Linked DNA regions of Homo sapiens: regions 2 and 3 are each linked to region 1. Evidence: promoter capture Hi-C in 16 types of primary human blood cells and fetal thymus (Javierre and others, 2016). All regions are on one chromosome and are shown on one strand. Each heading gives the region's core, a stretch centred on a gene start or on the middle of the fragment in contact. The rest is flanking DNA. Distances are from core to core; before and after follow the strand shown.

Evidence for each region. The method cuts DNA at HindIII sites, captures the fragments that hold promoters and counts their contacts. A CHiCAGO score of 5 or more calls a contact.
Region 2: a fragment that was not itself captured here is called in contact with the fragment with the promoter of KASH5 in region 1 in 5 of 17 cell types (naive CD8 T cells, total CD8 T cells, total CD4 T cells and 2 more); the score reaches 9.7 in naive CD8 T cells.
Region 3: a contact is called between a fragment that was not itself captured here and the fragment with the promoter of KASH5 in region 1, in 2 of 17 cell types (naive B cells and total B cells). The highest score is 8.8, in naive B cells.

What each region holds. Positions count from the first base shown.
Region 1 is chr19:49,386,418-49,389,947 of GRCh38, forward strand. It overlaps KASH5 (KASH domain containing 5), which reads left to right and starts at 1,832. Exons shown (of 20, transcript NM_144688.5): 1 at 1,832-1,910. LOC101928295 (a long non-coding RNA gene) reads right to left here and starts at 1,664. Exons shown (of 3, transcript NR_110729.1): 1 at 939-1,664. The HindIII fragment of the contact is 10,613 bases long and covers 1-3,530 here.
Region 2 is chr19:49,570,444-49,573,973 of GRCh38, forward strand. The region is part of intron 1 of NOSIP (nitric oxide synthase interacting protein); the gene reads right to left. Among named protein-coding and RNA genes, the nearest start is that of NOSIP, 8.3 kb to the right of the region's middle. The HindIII fragment of the contact is 3,513 bases long and covers 234-3,530 here.
Region 3 is chr19:49,245,804-49,249,333 of GRCh38, forward strand. The region is part of intron 2 of LOC107985340 (a long non-coding RNA gene); the gene reads left to right. Among named protein-coding and RNA genes, the nearest start is that of MIR4324, 61 kb to the right of the region's middle. The HindIII fragment of the contact is 8,311 bases long and covers 1-3,530 here.

The sequences.
Region 1 (3,530 bases), core at 582-3,081:
ATGGCGTGAACCCGGGAGGCGGAGCTTGCAGTGAGCCGAGATCGCCCCACTGCACTCCAGCCTGGGCGACAGAGCGAGACTCCGTCTCAAAAAAAAAAAACAAAAAAACAAAAAAAAAAACAGCAAGATCAGGGGCTTGAGGGCACATGGCTGTAGTCCCACCTACTCAGGAGGCTGAGGTGGGAGGATTACTTGAGCCCAGGAGGTGGAGGCTGCAGTGAGCTAGGGTCACATTACTGCACTCTATCCTGGGTGAGAACCTGTCTCAGAAAGAGAGGAGGGGGGAGGGGAGGGGAGGAAGGGGAGGGAGGAGGGGAGGCAGTGGACGCGGAGGGGAAGGGAGGGGAAGGGAGGGGAAGGGAGGGGAAGGGAGGGGGAAGGGAGGGGAAGGGAGGGGAGATAAAGGGAGGGGGAGGGGAAGGGAGGTGGGAGGGGAGATGAGGGGAGGAAAGTGGGGGGAGGAGAGGAGCAGAGGGGAAGAGAGGGGGAGGGGAGGGGAAGGTACGGGGGAGGGGAGATGAGGGGAGGGGAGTGGGGGAAGGGGAGGACAGGAGCAGAAGGGAAGGGAGGCGGGAGGGGAGGGGAAGGTACGGGGGAGGGGAGATGAGGGGAGGGGAGTGGGGGAAGGGGAGGAGAGGAGCAGAGGGGAAGGGAGGGGGGAAAAGAGAGATGGCACAAATTATTAATATCCGTCACCACAGATCTTACAGATATTAAAAAGATTGGGCATGGTGGCTCATGCCAGTAACCCCAGCACTTTGGGAGGCCAAGGTAGGAGGATCATTTGAGGGCAGGAGTTCGAGACCAGCCTAACATAAGACCGTGTTTCTCCCCCTCCAAAAAAAGACAATATTATGAACTTTATGCAAATTATTTGAAATTTTAGATAAAATGGAAAAATTCCTTGAAAACCACAACTTACCAAAACCACAACTTACCAGAAATAAAATAGAACATCTGAATAGTTGTATTTTTATAAAAGAAATAGAATTTGTAATTTAAAGTCTTTCCACAAAGAAAACTCTAGGTCCAGATGGCTGGTGACTTCTTCCAAACACATAAAAAATAAATAACATCAATCCTACACTAGCACTTTCAAAGAATAGAAAAAGAGAGAACACTTCTCCACACATTATATCAGCATAGCCTTGTTAACAAAACTCAACAGGGATCTCACAGAAAAGAAAAGAAAAGAAAATATGGCAATACATAAAAAGGACAGGCCAGGCGCTGTGTCTCACGCCTGTAATCCCAGCACTTTGGGAGGCCGAGGCGGGTGGATCGCCTGAGGTTGGGAGTTCGGTACCGGCCTGGCCAACGTGGTGAAACCCCGTCTCTACTAAAAATACAAAAATTAGCCAGGTGTGGTGGCGGGCGCATGTAATCCCAGCTACTCGGGAGGCTGAGGCAGGAGAATTGCTTGAACCCGGGAGGCGGAGGTTGCAGTGAGCTAAAATTGTCCCACTGCACTCCAGCCTGGGCGACAGAGCGAGACTCCATCTCAAAAAAAAAAAAAAAAGAAAGAAATGGGGGACGGACAAGGAGTCTCTCAGTTCAATTCCCCCTTCCTCAGCCCATTTCACCAAAGCCTGAAGCGGAAGAGAAAAACACGAGCCCCAGCATGGCGGGCGCAGCCACCCCCTCCTTCCACCACCAGACAAACTCCGTGGCCACAGCCCACACCGCCAGCGCGCATGCGTGACACGCGTCGGCCGCCGGTTTGCACCTGCGTCTTAAGAGGAGTCCGGGCGGGGAGGGGCGGGGCTCAGACGCTGCGCACGCGCACTCGCGACCCCTCGCCTCCTTTTGCTTTTTCTGGCGGGAAAAGCTCACGCGCACCTCCCCCAACTCAACTGCCGTTCGTCGTTCGTGGATGTCCGTTGTGTCCCGAGACTAGGACGTGGCTCCAGGTGCGCCCTGCCCCGCGGCGAGGTTCCCAGAATGGCCCTTCCCAGCCCCTACCGAAATCCTAGCGAAGCCCCCCCATATTGTGGGAGAGATACCCCTGCGTCAGGGCCCCCCAGATCCTGACCACTTGGGAGGCCGAGGCGGGCGGATCACGAGGTCAGAAGATAGAGACCATCCCGGGGAAGTGAAACCCCGTCTCTACTAAAAATACAAAAAATTAGCCAGGCGTAGTGGCACGCGCCTATAATCCCAGCTACTCAGGAGGCTGGGGCAGGAGAACTGCTTGAACCTGGAAGGCAGAGGTTGCAGTGAGCTGAGATCGCGCCACTGCACTCCAGCCTGGGTGACAAGAGTGAGACTCCGTCTCAAAAAAAAAAAAAAAAATCCTGACCACATCCCCTCAGATATACTGAAAGGAGTCCACCAGGAAATCTTATAGTTGACCCCCGAAATCCTGTCAGAATCGTCTAGAAATTGTCAGACTTCTCCCTCAGAGCCTGCCAGAAACTTTCCCCAAAATCCTATTACTCTCCCCAGATCAGCAGAGCCACCTAGACTCGTGTCAGAGATCCCCAGAAATCCTGGCAGGTCCCCTCCCAAACCCAGTCGGACCTCAGATTCCGTCAGAGAGCACAGAAGTCCATCAAAGACACCCCAGAAACGGAGACCCCGAAATGCACTCAGAGACCCCCGCAGAAATCAAGACCCTCCAAATCCAGCCAGAGACCCCCAGAAATCCAGTCAGACCCCTGCAGAAATCAAGACCCCCAAAATCCAGCCAGAGACCCCCAGAAATCCAGAGACCCCCGCATAAATCAAGACCCCCAAAATCCAGAGACCCCGAATAAATCAAGACCCCCAAAATCCAGTCAGAGAACCCCCAGAAATCCAATCAGACCCCCGCAGAAATCAAGACCCCCGAAATCCAGCCAGAGACCCCTGAAATCCAGTCAGAGACCCCCACAGAAATCAAAATCTCCAAAATCCAGCCAGACACTCCCCAGAAATCCAGTCAGAGACCCCCCCAAAATCCTGTCAGAGCCCTTGAAAGCCCGCCAAGGCCCACACCACCCAGAGCTCCTGCCAGGGCCCCATCCTGCTTCAGTGTCCCCGTCTCAGTCCCGTCAGACCCCCGAGATCAACCAACACCCCCGGGGTCCCTCAGGACTCCATCCCGAACCCACTCCGTGCGCCAGGGCCCAGCCAAGGCCATCGCCCCCCTTTGCACCCTGCAGGGTGTTCCAGACCCTGGAAGGGCCTCTCTTCAAAGACCCGTGTTTCCAGAACGGTGGCAGCGGGCTCACGTGGCTTGGGGAGAGCAGGCACTGGGGGAGCTGGGTGAGGACAGGCGAGCCCAGGCTCGACTGGTGGCCCCAAGGGGCGCCCGTGCCCGCTGTGATGATAGCAGCGCCCAGGTCTCTCTCTAGCCCCCAGAGTGCGGCCACTAAGGTTTTGGGTCGGCCTGGGTGGAATGGAGGCAGGATGGGGCCCCCCAAACTCCTGTCACTGCTGCAGGGACTGCCCAGAGCAGCTGCAAGTGGGGCTGGCAGGGATGAGGAGGAGGTGGCCTGGGCTTGGGGGACCATGTACATCCTGAGTTGGAACCCAGGGGAGCAGCAGGT
Region 2 (3,530 bases), core at 740-3,239, 180 kb after region 1:
CCTTTACAGTTGGATGCGATCTGACAAATGTATACACCCTTGTGACCACGACCCTATGGAGATACAGAACCTTCCTATCACGCTAAATACCCCCTCACGCCCCTTCCCGATCAATGTGCCCCCTGAGGCAGCCAGGGCTGCTTGCAGAAGGGCGACCTTGATCAAACACCCCAACTTGACCCAGGGTCCCCTCCACATGCCAGGCTCCTCCTCCGACTTCCCCCTGACCCCCAAGCTTCTCAGTGAACGTCCAACACCTGTTGCCTCCCCTCACCTGCCATCCGCTCCCCAGCCCCCACAACTGCCACTCATGAAGGTCACGGTGACCTTTTCATGGACACATTCCCCACTCTATTCTTAGTTGTCAACTCCCTTGACCCTCTGCAGTATTTGGCTCTGGGCACCTCGGCTTTCCCAGAGATGAGCTTGCTTGCTGTTTTGTGGCCAAGAACTGAGGTTTCTACATAGATGGGGACATTTTCCCTCCAAAAATAGGAGGAACACCTATAGAGGGAGCATTTAAACTTTTTTTAATTTAATTTGTTTTTTTTGAGATGGAGTCTTGCTCTGTTGCCGAAGCTGGAGTGCAGTGGTGTGATCTCGGCTCACTGCAACCTCCACCTCCTGGGTTCAAGCAATTCTCCTGCCTCAGACTCCCAAGTAGCTGAGATAACAGGCGCCCACGCCCAGCTAATTTTTTTTTTTTTTTTTTTGTATTTTTTAGTAGAGACAGGGTTTCACCATGTTGGCCAGGCTAGTTCTGAACTCCTGATCTCAAGTGATCCGCCCACCTCAGCCTCCCAAAGTGCAAGGATTACGGGCATGAACCACTGCACCCGGCAAACTCTTTGATTTTTAAAACTCAGTGATTTTTAAGATCCTGAGACCAGAAAGCGTGAGCGCCTCCAACCAAGGGTGGAAGAATAGCCAGTTTCAGGATTTACAAACTCTGAAAGCTGAGCTCTCCTGCCCCACACTATATTGTCTCTTTGGTAGGTCCAATTTCAAACTACAAAGCAGACTGCTGCCATCTGCTGTCACCAGCATTTCAGAGAGGAAACAGGCAAAGAGCAGGAGCGACCGATGTCAGCATAATCCCTACCTCACAGCACAGGAAACAGGCTCACAGCATGTCCCAGCTGGGAAATGGCAGAGCTGGGACTCAGACCCAGGCAGCCAGGCTCTGGAGCCATTCCTTTTAACTAGGTGACAACTGTCAGTTTTCCTAGGAAAGTCACAATCTCAGAAAAAAGGCCAATCAGGCTGGCCACGGTGGCTTAAACCTGTAATGCCAGCACTCTGGGAGGCTGAGACGGGTGGATCACAAGGTCAAGATGTTGAGACCATCCAGGCCAACATGGTGAAACCCCATCTCTACTAAAAATACAAAAATTAGCTGGGTGTGTTGGTGCGCGCCTGTGGTCCCAGCTGCTCGGGAGGCTGAGGCAGAAGAATCGCTTGAACCCAGGAGGTGGAGGTTGCAGTGAGCCCAGATCGCACCACTGCACTTCAGCCTGGCGACAGAGTGAGACTCTGTCTCAAAAAAAAAAAAAAAAAAAAGCCAATCCATTCCTTTATTTGTAGCCTTTGAAATCCAGAATGTATTTTACTCTTTCAGCACATCTCAGTAATTTCAGTAATTCAGATGCTAAATTTTCTTTTTTTTTTCTTTTTTTTTTGAGATGGAGTTTCGCTTTTATCACCTAGGGTGGAGTGCAGTGGTGTGATCTCGGCTCACTGCAACCTTCACCTCCCCGATTCAAGTGATTCTCCTGCCTCAGCCTTCCAGGTAGCTGGGATTACAGGCACCCGCCACCATGCCTGGCTAATTTTTTGTATTTTTAGTAGAGATGGGGTTTCGCCATGTTGGGCAGGCTGGTCTCGAACTCCTGACCTCAGGTGATCCACCCGCCTCAGCCTCCCAAAGTGCTAGGATTACAAGCATGAGTCACTGCACCCAGCCTTTTTTTTTTTTTTTTTTTTTTGAGACAGAGTCTCGCTCTGTTGCCCAGTCTGGAGTGCAAAATAGTGCAATCTTGGCTCACTGCAACCTCCACCTCCAGGGCTCAAGCCATTCTCCTGCCTCAGCCTCCCAAGTAACTGGAATTCCAGGCGTGTGCCACCATGCCCAGCTCATTTTTGTATTTTTATATTTGTATTTTTAGCACAGATGGGGTTTCACCACATTGGCCTGGCCATCAGATGCTAAATTTTCATTGGAGATACTTTAAAATATATATATATATATGGCTGGGAGCAGTGGCTCACGCCTGTAATCCCAGCACTTTGGGAGCCCAAGGCGGGCAGATCACCTGAGGTCAGGAGTTCAAGACCAGCCTGGCCAATGTGGCGAAACCCTGTCTCTACTAAAAATGCAAAAATTGGCTGGGTGTGGTGGCAGGTGCCTGTAGTCCCAGCTACTCGGGAGGCTGAGGCAGGAGAATCGCTTGAACCTGGGGGCAGAGGTTGCAGTGAGCCAAGATCGGGCCACTGCACTCCAGCCTGGCCAACAGATCAAGACTGTGTCTCAAAAAAAAAAAAAAAAAAAAAGCCCGGCTCTGAAGCAGACCCTGGCTCTAAGCATTTTACTGAATATCATAACACCTCAAACGGTCGAATATCACAACACTCCACTGAATATCACAGCACCTCAAATAGTTGCTATAAATGAAGAGAGGCACAGAGGCGGTGCCCTAGGTTATGCAGCTAGTGAGTCCTACAGCTGTGTTTGATCCAAGCACCTGTGGCTTTGACCATCCACTGTGCCAGCTGGCTGCAGGCGGCCTCAGGCACTGTGCTGAACTCTGGGAGTGGATCAGACAGCTAGTGTGTGTCTTGTCCTCCCCTGAAATCCTGTCTCCTTTCTCCTCCAGAGCACTGCCAAGGTTTGCCTCCTCCAAGAAGCCTGCCTCTCCGGGATCAGTTAGGTTCTCCTTGCACTTGACCGTGCCCTGAGCTACCTCCGTTACAGCCCGTCCCTCGGTATTTCGGCTCCAGAGTAGGGGCCCTGGTTGGTGGGGCCTGGGTTGAACTTCAGCCTGGGTCCCAGCATTGCCTGGCACCTGGGAGGTCTCAGAGATGTCATGATAGAATCAATGAACCACCTCCAATCCTAGGGCCAGGGGAGGTGGGTTAGCAATGAACTAACCATGCAGCCATGACATCATGCCATTAATACACTAATAATTCATTAGTAACATGTGAATCACAGAAGCACTGGAAGAACAGAAGTAATCATCACATCCTTCAACCCCTTAAGAATCAGACCTTGTGGGAAGCACTTTCCACATGTGAACACATTCGGTCCTCATGACAACCTCCCCACGTTCTGCCCATTTATTTTATTTTATGTATGTATGTATGTATGTATGTATTTATTTTGGAGACAGTCTCACTGTCACCAGGACTGAAGTATTTTTTTTTTTTTTTTTTTGGAGACGGAGTCTCACTCTGTCACCCGGACTGGAGTGCAGTGGCACGATCTTGACTCACTGCAACCTCCACCTCCCAGGTTCAAGTGATTCTCCTGC
Region 3 (3,530 bases), core at 611-3,110, 140 kb before region 1:
CACTGCAGCCTTGGCCTCCCGGGCCCAAGCGATCCTCACGCCCAGCATCTTGAGTAGCTGGGACCACAGGCATGTGCCACCATGACCAGCTAATTTTTTTTTTTTTTTTGTAGAGACACGGTCTCCTTATGTTGCCCAGACTAGTCTCAAACCCCTGAGCTCAAGCGATCTTCCTGTCTTGGCCTCCCAACGTGTTGGGATTACAGGCGTGAGCCACCACACCTGGCCAAAACTCAGTTTTTATTGAGCTATAATTTACAGACAACAAGCACAGATACTAAATGTATACTTTAATGAGTTTTGACAAATGACCCCTGTCACCAATGCCCCAATTTCCGTCACTCCAGAGAGTTACTTTGGGTTCCTTTCTCTTCACCCCAGAAGCAATGACTGATTTCCATCACTACATATAAGTCTGACCTGTTCTTGGGTTTCATAGATAATAGATTCACACAATACATAGACATTTGTGTCTGGCCTGTTACATTTAATATAGAACATCTTTGCTAAGCCCGAGGTCATAAAGATATTCTATGTTTTCTTCCGGAAGTTTCTAGTTTTGGCTTTTGAATTTAGGTCTTTGGTTCCTGTTAATTTGGGGTGGGGGTATGGTATGTGGCAGGAATATGTTTATATTTTTCTATATGGCTATACAGTAGTTCTAGCCCTGTTTGTTAAAAAGACTTTCCCTTACCCATTGAATTGCTGTGATATCTTTACTGAACATCAATTGGTCATATGTGTATAGGTGGATTTCTGTTCTGTTCTATTGATCTTTTGGTTTATCTTTAGGCTAATATAACACTGCCCTGACTACTGTAGCTTTATAGTAAATCTTGAAATTCGATAGTATGAGTCTCCAACGTGTTCTTTCTCAAGATTGTTTGGACTACTTTAGGTCTTTTGCATTTTTTTTTTTTTTTTTTTTTTGAGATGGAGTCTTGCTCCATTGCCCAGGCTGGAGTGCAGTGGTGTGATCTCAGGTCATTGCAACCTCCCTGCCTACTGAGTTCAAGCAATTCTCCTGCCTCAGCCTCCTAAGTGAAATTACAGGCACCCGATACCACGCCTGGCTAATTATTTTTTAGTAGAGATGGGGTTTCCTCATGTTGGCCAGGCTGGTCTCAAACTCCTGACCTCAGGTGATCCTCCTGCCTTGGCCTCCCAAAGTGCTGGGATGACCGGCATAAGCCACTACACCCGGCCGGTCCTTTGCATTTTCATGTACATTTTAGAATCAGCTTGTCAATTCCTCAACAAACCTGGCTGAGATCTGAATTGCCATTGTGTTGAATCTGTAGATCAATTTGGGGAGAACTGATATCTTGTTTTTTGAGACAGAGTCTTACTCTGTTACCCATGCAGGAGTGCAGTGGTGCGATCTCGGCTCACTGCAGCCTCTGCCTCGCAGGCTCAAGCGATTCTCCTACCTCAGCCTCCTGAGTAGCTGGGATTACAGGTGTGTACCACCATGCCCAGCTAATTTTTTTGTATTTTTAGTAGAGACAGGGTTTCACCATGTTGGCCAGGCTGGTCTCAAACTGCTGAGCTCAAGTAATCCACCCACCTCGGCCTCCCGAAGTGCTGGGATTACAGGCGTGAGCCACCACGCCCGGCCTACACCAATTCTTTGAATTCATAAACAAATATTTCCATTTATTTAGGTTTTTCTCTCAAAAATACCTTGTAGTTTTCAGTATAGAGATTTTTGAATATCTTTTGTTAAATATAGTCTTAGCATTTGATTTTTGAGGCTATTGTAAATGGTTTTGTTTTTAAAATTTCACTTAACTATGGTTTGTTGCTAGTATGCAGAAATGTGATTATTTTTGTATATTGGCTTTTATTTTTGTGACTTTCCTAAGTGCACTTATTCTAGTAGCTTTTTATTTTTGTAGATTCCCTAGGATTTCCTAATTACATGCTTATGACATCTGTGAATAAAGACAGTTTTACTTCTTCCTAGCCAGTTTCTATGCTTTTTATATCTTTTTCTTGCCTTCTTTCACTGGCTAGGAACTTCACTATAGTGTTGAACAGAAGTGGTGTAAAGGGATTTCCCTTCCCTGTTTTCAGTATTGGGGAAAGTATTCAGTATTTCATCATTTAGTATGATGTTAGCTGTAGCTTTTGTCATTGTTGTTAATATCCTTAACACAATGAATGATTCTCAACCGAGGGTGATTTCCCACCTCTTCCAGGGACATTTGGTAATGTCATATGACTTTTTTTTTTTTTTTTTTTTTTTTTTTTTTGAGACTGAGTCTCGCTCTATCACTCAGGCTGGAGTGCAGTGGCGTGATCTCGGCTCACTGCAAACTCCGCCTCCCGGGTTCACGCCATTCTCCTGCCTCAGCCTCCTGAGTAGCTGGGACTACAGGCGCCCGCCACCACGCCTGGCTAATTTTTTGTATTTTTAGTAGAGACAGGGTTTCACCATGTTAGCCAGGATGGTCTCGATCTCCTGACCTCATGATCCGCCCACCTCGGCCTCCCAAAGTGCTGGTATTACAGGCGTGAGCCACTGCACTTGGCCTGTCATGTGACATTTTTCATTGTCACAAACAGCTGAGTGGGGAGCGTTGATGCTGGCATCTTGAGGGTGAAGGCTAGGAACACTGCCAAGCATTCTAGGATGCACAGCACAGCCTCTCCCCACCCCAGCAAAGAATTTTCTGGGCAAAATCCCCATCATGTTCAGGTAGAGAATCTCTGCCCAGCACATGGAGGAAGTTCTGTTGTATTTCTAGTTTGTTGCAGGTTTTTTTTCCTCCAATAATAGGTGTTGAATTTTGTCAAATGGTTCTTCCCTTTAATCTATTAATGTAATAAGTTACATTAATTTCTGGGATAAAACCACTTGCTTATACTGTATCCACTTTGTTTGTGGATTAAATTTGCTAATATACTTTGAGACAGTCTCTCGTTCTGTCGCCCAGGCTGGAGGGCGTGATCTTAGCTCACTGCAACCTCCGCCTCCTGGGTTCAAGCTATTCTCCTGCCTCAGCCTCCCGAGTAGCTGGGATTATAGGCGCCTGCCACCACGCCCGGCTAATTTTTATATTTTTAGTAGAGATGGGGTTTCATCATGTTAGCCAGGCTGGTCTCAAACTCCTGACCTGAAGTGATCCACCCACCTCCCAAAGTGCTGTGATTACAGGCACAAGCCACTGCGCCTGGCCAAATTTAACTTTTAAACTCAGAAATGGGGCTATTTAGATTTTCTACTTGCATCAGTCTTTGTAATTTGTACCTTGCAAGGTGTTTAAGTTGAACTTATAGGTATAATTTTGATCATAATATTCCATTATTATTTTGATGTCATCAAGATCTATGATGGTGCTCCTTTTGTTTTAGAGTCTCTGTTGTGCAGGCTGGGTCACCGCAGCCTCCACCTCCTGGCTTCAAGCGATTCTCTTGCCTCAGCCTCCTGAGTAGCTGGGATTACAGGCACATGCCACCACACCTAGCTAATTTTTATATTTTTAGTAGAGATGAGATTTTGCCATGTTGGCCAGGTGGGTCTCAAA